Regions from separate parts of the Homo sapiens genome. Here region 1 is linked to region 2. The links are contacts of gene promoters, found by promoter capture Hi-C in human tissues and cell types (Jung and others, 2019). All regions are on one chromosome and are shown on one strand. The core of a region is centred on a gene start or on the middle of the fragment in contact, and the rest is flanking DNA. Distances in the headings are between cores, read along the strand shown.

What was found. The method cuts DNA at HindIII sites, captures the fragments that hold promoters and counts their contacts. A contact is called where the count stands out against the background at its distance.
Region 1: a fragment that was not itself captured here is called in contact with the fragment with the promoter of ZNF317 in region 2 in 2 of the 25 tissues and cell types used here (H1 embryonic stem cells and lymphoblastoid cells).

The regions. Positions count from the first base shown.
Region 1 is chr19:9,278,314-9,283,241 of GRCh38, forward strand. It overlaps the pseudogene OR7H1P. Among named protein-coding and RNA genes, the nearest start is that of ZNF699, 29 kb to the right of the region's middle. The HindIII fragment of the contact is 5,089 bases long and covers 142-4,928 here.
Region 2 is chr19:9,138,414-9,141,899 of GRCh38, forward strand. It overlaps ZNF317 (zinc finger protein 317), which reads left to right and starts at 1,984. Exons shown (of 7, transcript NM_020933.5): 1 at 1,984-2,179. RefSeq lists enhancers at 1,647-1,746, 1,797-2,006. The HindIII fragment of the contact is 13,678 bases long and covers 1-3,486 here.

The sequences.
Region 1 (4,928 bases), core at 1,436-3,935, 140 kb after region 2:
TTTTATATTTTTTTTGTAGAGACAGGGTCTTGCTATGTTGCCCAGGCTGGTCCAGAATTTCTTTAGCTCACTGCTGCTACCTCTGCCAACTCAGAAGCCCAGGACCAATGTCCCCGTCATTGAGCATACAGCATTCTCCCAAGCAGTGTTTCTAGGGTCCTCTTGATGTCCCTGTTCCGCAAGCAATAGATGAAGGGGTTCAGCATGGGGGTGACCACAGTGTACATGACCGAGGCCACCATGCCCCACCAGGAAGAGGACGATGCATTGGAACTAAGATACACACCAAGGCCTGTCCCATAGAATAAAGAAACCACAAACAGATGAGATCCACAGGTAGAAAAGGCTTTGTGTTTCCCATCTGTGGATGAGATTCTCAGGATGTAGGAGACAATTTGGGTGTAGGAGAAAAGGATCCCTGAGAAGGGCACAAAGTCCAGAAGGCCGGCCACCACGTAGAGCAGGATGTAATTGACATGTGTGTCTGAGCAGGTAAGCCTGAGGACCTGAGCAAGCTCACAGTAAAAGTGCTGAATGACTCAACTGGTGCAGAAGGACACCCGCAGCACCAACAGACTCTGGATCAGGGAGTATGACAAGCTGAGGAACCAGGACACAAGAACCAGCAGGCCACAGAGGCAGGGGTTCCTGGTGACACAGTAGTACAGGGGGTGACAGATGGCCACATACCGGTCATAGGCCATCACGGTGAGGAGAAATGTGTCCATGCCTCCAAAAACCATGAAAAACATACATCTGGGCGATGCAGTCTGCATAGCTGATGGCATTGCTCTGCACCTGGATGTTCACCAGCATCTTGGGGACTGCGGTGGAGGTGAAACCGATGTCAGCCAGGGACAGATTGGAGAGGAAGAAGTACCTGGGGGTGTGGAGGTGGGAGTCAGAGCTGATGGCCAGGATGATGAGCAGGTTCCCCAGAACGGTGACCAGGTACATGGACAGAAACAGTGCAAAGAGCAACTGTTGATCCTCTAGGTCTTGGGAAAATCCCAGGAGTAAAAATTCTGAAACTCTTGTTTGATTTCCCAAGTCCATGTTGCTGACACATCAGCTAGACAGTTAAGGAAGGGAAGAAACATGAAATAGATGCTGAACAGGCTCCAAAATCTCTCTGCTTTTTTATTTCTTGAGGTGAATAATTGGATACAAAAGCTTTAAAATAGCAAAACTTAGGAATCCTACATTCTGTCATTTGTTATAGGCAACATTTCATAACGTTGACTAACCCCTGTTCATTGGCCTCTCAGAGGCTTACCCATTCCCTTTTTCTCTGCTTTAGAATCATCAAATCTACCAAGAGCAACTTTAGACCTTAGAGATAAAATGGTCTGCACCTGCTCTAACACATATAAGGTTCAGTGAACTTAAGAAAAGGTCAGGGTCATCTTCCTTGTCTAAGACACAACTGAGACTGAAGAAGGTCAGACAACTATGTCTGAGCAGTGAGAAAATATGAAAGCAGAGATAATAGCTAGACAAAATATTGCAAGATGAGTGGATTTAGGTTTTCAAGGAAGGAAAGAGGAAGGGAGGGAGGGAAGGAGGAAGGAAGGGAAGGAAGGAAAGAAGGAAGGAAGGAAAGGAAGAAAGGAAGGAAGGAAGGAAGGAAGGAAGGAAGGAAGGAAGGAAGGAAGGAAGGGTTACTTGTTGCCTTAAGTCCCACTTGGAATTATGGTGGCAGCCAAATTCTGATTCAAATAGGTCATGACATTACCAGTAATAACATTCATCTTAAGAAGCTGACCGCACATTAAAAACTTTCTACCTTAGAACCAGGGTTTCAAAATTAGAGACCAGAAAGATACAGTCATTTGACACTTATATGATTCTCTTTTTCCATCCACATAATAAATATGTCCTAATCTGTTTCTAGTGTCTAGTGTTGGTGCACAATTTTTTTTGTTGTTGTTGGGTTTTTGTTTGTTTTCTTTTCTTTTGAGACAGAGTCTTGAGCTGTCACCCAGGCTGGAGAGTTCAGTGGCGCAATCTCGGCTCACTATAACCTCTGCCTCCCGGGTTCAAACAATTCTCCTGCCTCAGCCTCCTGAGTAGCTGGGATTACAGGTGTGCACCACCATGCCCAGCTAGTTTTTGTAAAAATACAAAACTAACTAGCTAGTTTTTTACAAAAACTAGTTAGTTTTACCATGTTGGCCAGGCTGGTCTTCAACTCCCAACCTCAGGTGATCTGCCCACCTCGGCCTCCCAAAGTGCTGGGATTACAGGCATGAGCCACAGCACGTGGCCTGGTGCATAATTTTTGTTGAGCCGTGCTGGGAAGTACAGAAGAATTGAACTAGGTTGACAACTAGGTTGTCAGTCACTGAAAAAGTGCTAACAGCCATTCTGCAAGAGGGTCTTCTTTGGGCCAGGCTAAGTGTTAGCTGTTGGGGATACAAAGATTAATGATGTGGTCTTTTTTTTCTTATGGTTCCACCTTCCAGAAGATGGATTCAGAAACAGATCATTGTAACACAGTGAATTAAGTGCTAAAATAAAACGATGTACAGAGTGGAGTACAGAGAGGAACCCTCAATCCAGCCTGGAGTAATGCATTCAGGGAAGGAGTCCTGGAGGAAGGAATACCTGGGCAAGGAGTTACCCAGGTGAATGGTTGCACAGGGGCATTTCTGGCAGAGATATAAGCAAGGGAATAAGCCTAGAAGCAAGAAGCAGCATGGGACAGAGTTCTCTTAGCCCTTTGCTGCTGCTTAAGTACAAAGTGTTAGATAGAAACGATGAGGATGATGTTGGAGAGGTGGGCAGGGATGACATGTCTAAGAACTTTGAAAAGTATAATCCATAAAGGATGGGGCTGTGAAGGAACGGCAATCAAAGGAGTAACATGATAGGAATTGCAATTCTCCCTGGGGCCTGGAGGGAAAGATGGATTTAGGGCAGGCAAAACTAAGGATAAGGGAACAGGGTTGGGGATTCTTCATATCATTGGAATTGAGGGGAACAACTCAGGAATATTTTTGCAGAAGAAATACAAAGGCCAGGAGAGGTAAAGGAATGAGGTCAATGTCTTGCTAACAATCTCAGCTTAAGGATGAGACTTGACCTTCAAGTGAAATGAAGGGAATTATGGAAAAGAATCCTGCAGGTTTCAATGCTTCCCTCGTGTTCCCCAGAGGATACGATGTCAAGAGGAGACTGGATGTTGGGCTTGCCTGAGCCCTTCACTTTCCCTCACTCACCCATCGTACCCTAGTTGTTATACACCATGGCCTTCCATTCCAGGGAACACAGACGCTTGTCTCTTGAAGGTGTCTACTTAGAATCATGGATAAGGGTAAAGAAGGATGGGGAAGGATAAGTCTTTCTGGAGAGGCAGGAGATGTTTCCAAGCAAGTGAGGGTCACAGAGAAGAATTCAGAGAGGCTTGATCTAGGCTGAGGGCCTCTGAAGTTCTTGGGTCAGGTAGTAGGTGAAAAGAACTAGAAGTGACCAGGACTTCACTGCAAGGCACCTACAGCTCCTACTGAAACCTGCAGGATTCTTTTCCATAATTCCCTTCATTTCACTTGAAGTCAAGTCTCGTCCTTAAGCTGAGATTGTTAGCAAGACATTGACCTCATTCCTTTACCTCTCCTGGCCTTTGTTTTTCTTCTGCAAAAATATTCCTGAGTTGTTCCCCTCAATTCCAATGATATGAGGAATCCCCAACCCTGTTTCCTTGTCCTTAGTTTTGCCTGCCCTAAATCCATCTTTCCCTCCAGGCCCCAGGGAGAATTGCAATTCCTATCATGTACCTTGGAGCATCCATTTGTACAATGCAGATTGGTCACTCCAAGACCACACAGAGTGATCCAGGGCAGCGCTAAGATATCAAACAGTGCCCCAGGCCAACAAAGAGTAGCCCTTCCTATAACCTCCATCAGTCATCTACCCAAGTAATATACAGGCAAAGTTAAAGCTCGCTATACAATGGCTATTTAAGCAAGTAGTCTAGCCATTCTCCCTTCCAAGAAATCAGCCTCAACAGCCCCTTCTCCGTGGACATCACAGGGTTTCTCCTGCCCTATGATTAACAAGTCAATGCCTTTCCCCTCAATCATCTCTTTTCCCTATTTCCCTCAACACTTACTGAGCTATGAAGGTTTGACAATGTGGACCCACCACAGGAGCCACCTTGTGTCCAGAATTGGTGGGTTCTTGGTCTCACTGACTTCAAGAATGAAGCCGCAGACCCTCGCGGTGAGTGTTACAGCTCTTAAGTGGCGCGTCTGGAGTTTGTTCCTTCTGATGTTCGGATGTGTTCGGAGTTTCTTCCTTCTGGTGGGTCCATGGTCTCGCTGGCTCAGGAGTGAAGCTGCAGACCTTCACTGTGAGTGTTACAGCTCTTAAAGCAGCGCGTTTGGAGTTGTTCGTTCCTCCCAGTAGGCTCGTGGTCTCGCTGGCTTCAGGAGTGAAGCTGCAGACCTTCGCGGTGAGTGTTACAGCTCATAAAAGCAGCGTGGACCCAAAGAGTAAGCAGTAGTAAGATTTATTGCAAAGAGCAAAAGAACAAAGCTTCCATAGCTTGGAAGGGGATCCGAGCGAGGTGCCACTGCTGGCTGGGGCAACCTGCTTTTATTCTGGTATCTGGCCCCACCCACATCCTGCTGATTGGTAGAGCCAGTGGTCTGTTTTGACAGGGTGCTGATTGGTGCCTTTACAACCCCTAAGCTAGACACAAAGGTTGTCCACGTCCCCACTAAATTAACTAGATACAGAGTGTCCACACAAAGGTTCTCCAAGGCCCCACCAGAGTAGCCAGATACAGAGTGTCAATTGGTGCATTCACAAACCCTGAGCTAGACATAGGGTGCTGATTGGTGTGTTTACAAACCTTGAGCTAGATACAGAGTGCCGATTGGTGTATTTACAATCCCTGAGCTAGACATGAAGGTTCTCCAAGGCCC
Region 2 (3,486 bases), core at 734-3,233:
AGCCCAGCTACTCGGGAGGCCGAGGCAGGAGAATCGCTTGATCCCGGGAGGCGGAGGTTGCGGTAGCTGAGATCTCACCATTGCCCCCCAGCCTGGGAAACAAGAACGAAACTCCATTGCAAAAAGAAAAAAAAAAAGGAAAAAAAAGATGAGAGATGAATGTTGGCGAGGGCATCAAGCAAAGTGAACCCTAGTACATTGTTGGTGGGAATGCAGACTGGTACAACCTTTGTGGAAAACAGTATTCAGGCTCTTAAAGAAATCTACAACAGAACTACTATATGACCCAGCAATTCCTCTTTTGAATATATGCCTAAAAGAGATGAAATAATCACCTCATAACGATGTCTGCACTTTCATTTTCATTGTAGCATTATTTACAATATCCAAGTTACGGAAACAACCTGAATGTCCATTGATGCTCACATGAATACGAAATACAAAATAGCAGCTATGTAGTCTGAATAATATTCTATCTCTTTTGTATTTATATATGATGTCAACATTAATATCATATAATATTGATATATATTTCATATTATATTAAATATTAATATAATATGTTGTATATAAATATATACCTATTACATAATAGATATTCCCATTATGTTATATATCATGTAATATATTATATGTAATATATGTATATAATATACTATATGAAATACATATTATATATTATATGTATTATTATATGTATATATGCTATATATTATGGTGTATATATTATGTATTATGAAATATATATTACGTTATGTAATATAGATTATATATTATATATGAATATCTTATATCCATATATATTCCATACATACATTTTATATGTGTGTGTATATATATATATACGCACCATGGTCCATCCCCTCAATAATATATTTTCCAAAACCTCAAATTTCCTTCTCTCTGTCTTTTATAATACCTGCCCTGGATAATACTAACCATCTGTCTCTCCTGCCTATATAATTCTGCCCCTACTGGTTACATGGGAAGCCTTGGTTTCCTAAAGTGTTGAGATTACAGGTGTGAGCCACTGTACCCAGCCTGATTCTGGAATTTTGTATATGCAGACTCCTCCTGCTAAAATAATATATATTATATATAATATATATTCCATAATATATATAACATACATACATATATTATTTTAGCATATATTATATAATATACGGTAATAATACACATAATACATAATTATAATAAATATGATATAATATATATTCCATTGTATAAAACATATAATATATATAACGGAATATTATTCAACCTTGAAATAGAAGGAGGTCCTGACATTTATCACAAGATGGGTGGACCTGGAGGACATTACGCTAAGTGAAATAAGCCAGACACAAAAAGAAAAATATTGCATGACGTCACTTACATGAGGAACTTTTTTTAATCAAGAGAGACAGCTCAAATACACAGAAATAAAGAATGAGGCAGTTGGGGAAGAAAATGGGAAGATGTGGGTCAAAAAATACAAAATAGCAGATATGCAGGATGAACACCACACAGGTGATGGTGATTTTACGCCCTTCCCAAGGTGTCATTCAGAGGCACGTGGTCTCCATCTGACCCTCACTGGTGATATTGATTTGATCACCTGGTCCAGATGTTGTCCAATTTCTTCGCTGTACAATTTCTATTACTTTTTCTCCATTCCAACATACGAGCAGTTTATAGAGAGGCATTTAAGGCAATTCAAATATTCTGCTCGTCATGCAAATGTCCCCCAGTTGTGTCATGTAGATGACAATTCTTGCCTGATTCAACCTTTACCACTACGATGGCTACAAAATGCTGTGGGTTGTGGTTGAAAATTTGAGTCTTGAGTAGAAATTGGAGAAATATGCTGGACCGTCAGATTCCACCGGGGCACGGCCGCCATGCCAATCCAAACTTCAAAACTACAATTCCCAGCATCCTCTCCGCCCCGCTTCCGTATTAGACGCCGCCAATGAAGTCCCGCGAGAATTGGAAGGCGGCAGTGAAGCGGAAGCCATTACTCTCTGGAGTCGATTGCCCCGAGACACATGGGCCAAGGAGGGGTCAGCGGCGAATTCTTTCGGCCTGTTGGGGACCCCTCGTGTCCCCACGCCAGACTGGACCTCCCGTATGAACTTCTCTTCGCATCGGCGGCGGCTTCCGTCACCTCCGCTCCCCCGATCCTATTCCCAGTCGTGTAAGCCCTGCTTTCCTTAACCCTTCTCCCCCTCAGTTCCAGGGGTCACGGGAGGCCTATCTGGCGGTGAGGACTAAGAGGGTACGAGGGTCGGGGGCTAAAGAGCTAGGCATCCAGACGAGGGGTGCGTTTAGATCTCGCGATCAGCGATATGAAAAGCTGGGGACGCGAAGGATAAAATTGGACCATTGCAGCTAGTGATGAGAGAAGCATTGGTCACCTGATCCTGAAAAGCCCTAAGTCTCTGGTGGGGGCGGAAAAGCCCGGCTGAAGTGAATTCAAGAGTTTGGGGGCAGTTCAGGAGATTGGGGGGCGTCAGGATTTGGACATCGCGAGGAGAAATCACCTTCTTTCTGCGCTGTAGTCAATTTTATCTCGTGAATGTCAGCACATTGGTGTTCTTATTAGCACTTACCTTGAGTACCTTTTATATTTTTAATTTAAGACCTTCTGGTTGCACTTTTTTATTTATTTTAATTTTAGTGGACTCTTGTAAATAGCCTATATGTATATTTACTATTCAGTTCAACATTTTGTTAATTAACTTGAGTTAGTCCAGTTATACTTATCGTGATTATTAATATTTTCCATTGAATTTTACCGTCTTATTTTGTGGTGTGTCCTTTCCTATGCACATATTTTAACACTGGAAAATAGGACATACATGCAAAAAAAGTATGATTACACACACACGCAGACTTACACACACTTAAAAGGACAACAGTAAAGCGAATTTACAAACCAGGCCAAGAAAGAGATTATTAAATCTCAGAAAGCTGTGTGCCTCTTCTAAACTGCATCCTCCTCTCCCACCAATACTGTCTCCGTGGATTTGACTGCGTATACATCTTTTCCAGAAAATATATTTCCTAAATTTTGGTAATTATTTGTGAATGAACTCAGGCGCTTCAGTATTTTTGGAAACAATCTTTTTCTGTATTGATTCAAGCACACCTTTGTAATTTAGAGATTTCTAAATATCTTGTAGATGAAGTACTTACACCTAGCCATTCTTTTTCAGGAATGTCATGGCTTAAATTCTAGTCAGTTCACCAAATTCCACATACTGGACTTTTGTTTTCAAGTTGTGGTGAATCTATATTTGAACTTTGGGAATATTGTCGTTTTTATGCCATTGAGTTGCAGTTAATTGATTTACATCATTTATTTACATCTTCTTTAATGCCTTTCAATAAAGTGTTTTTTGTTGTTGTTGTTGTTTTTTCCTTTTTGAGATGGAGTCTCACCCTTGTAGCCCAGACTGGAGTGCAATGACAATCTCGGCTCACTGCAACCTCTGTCTCCCT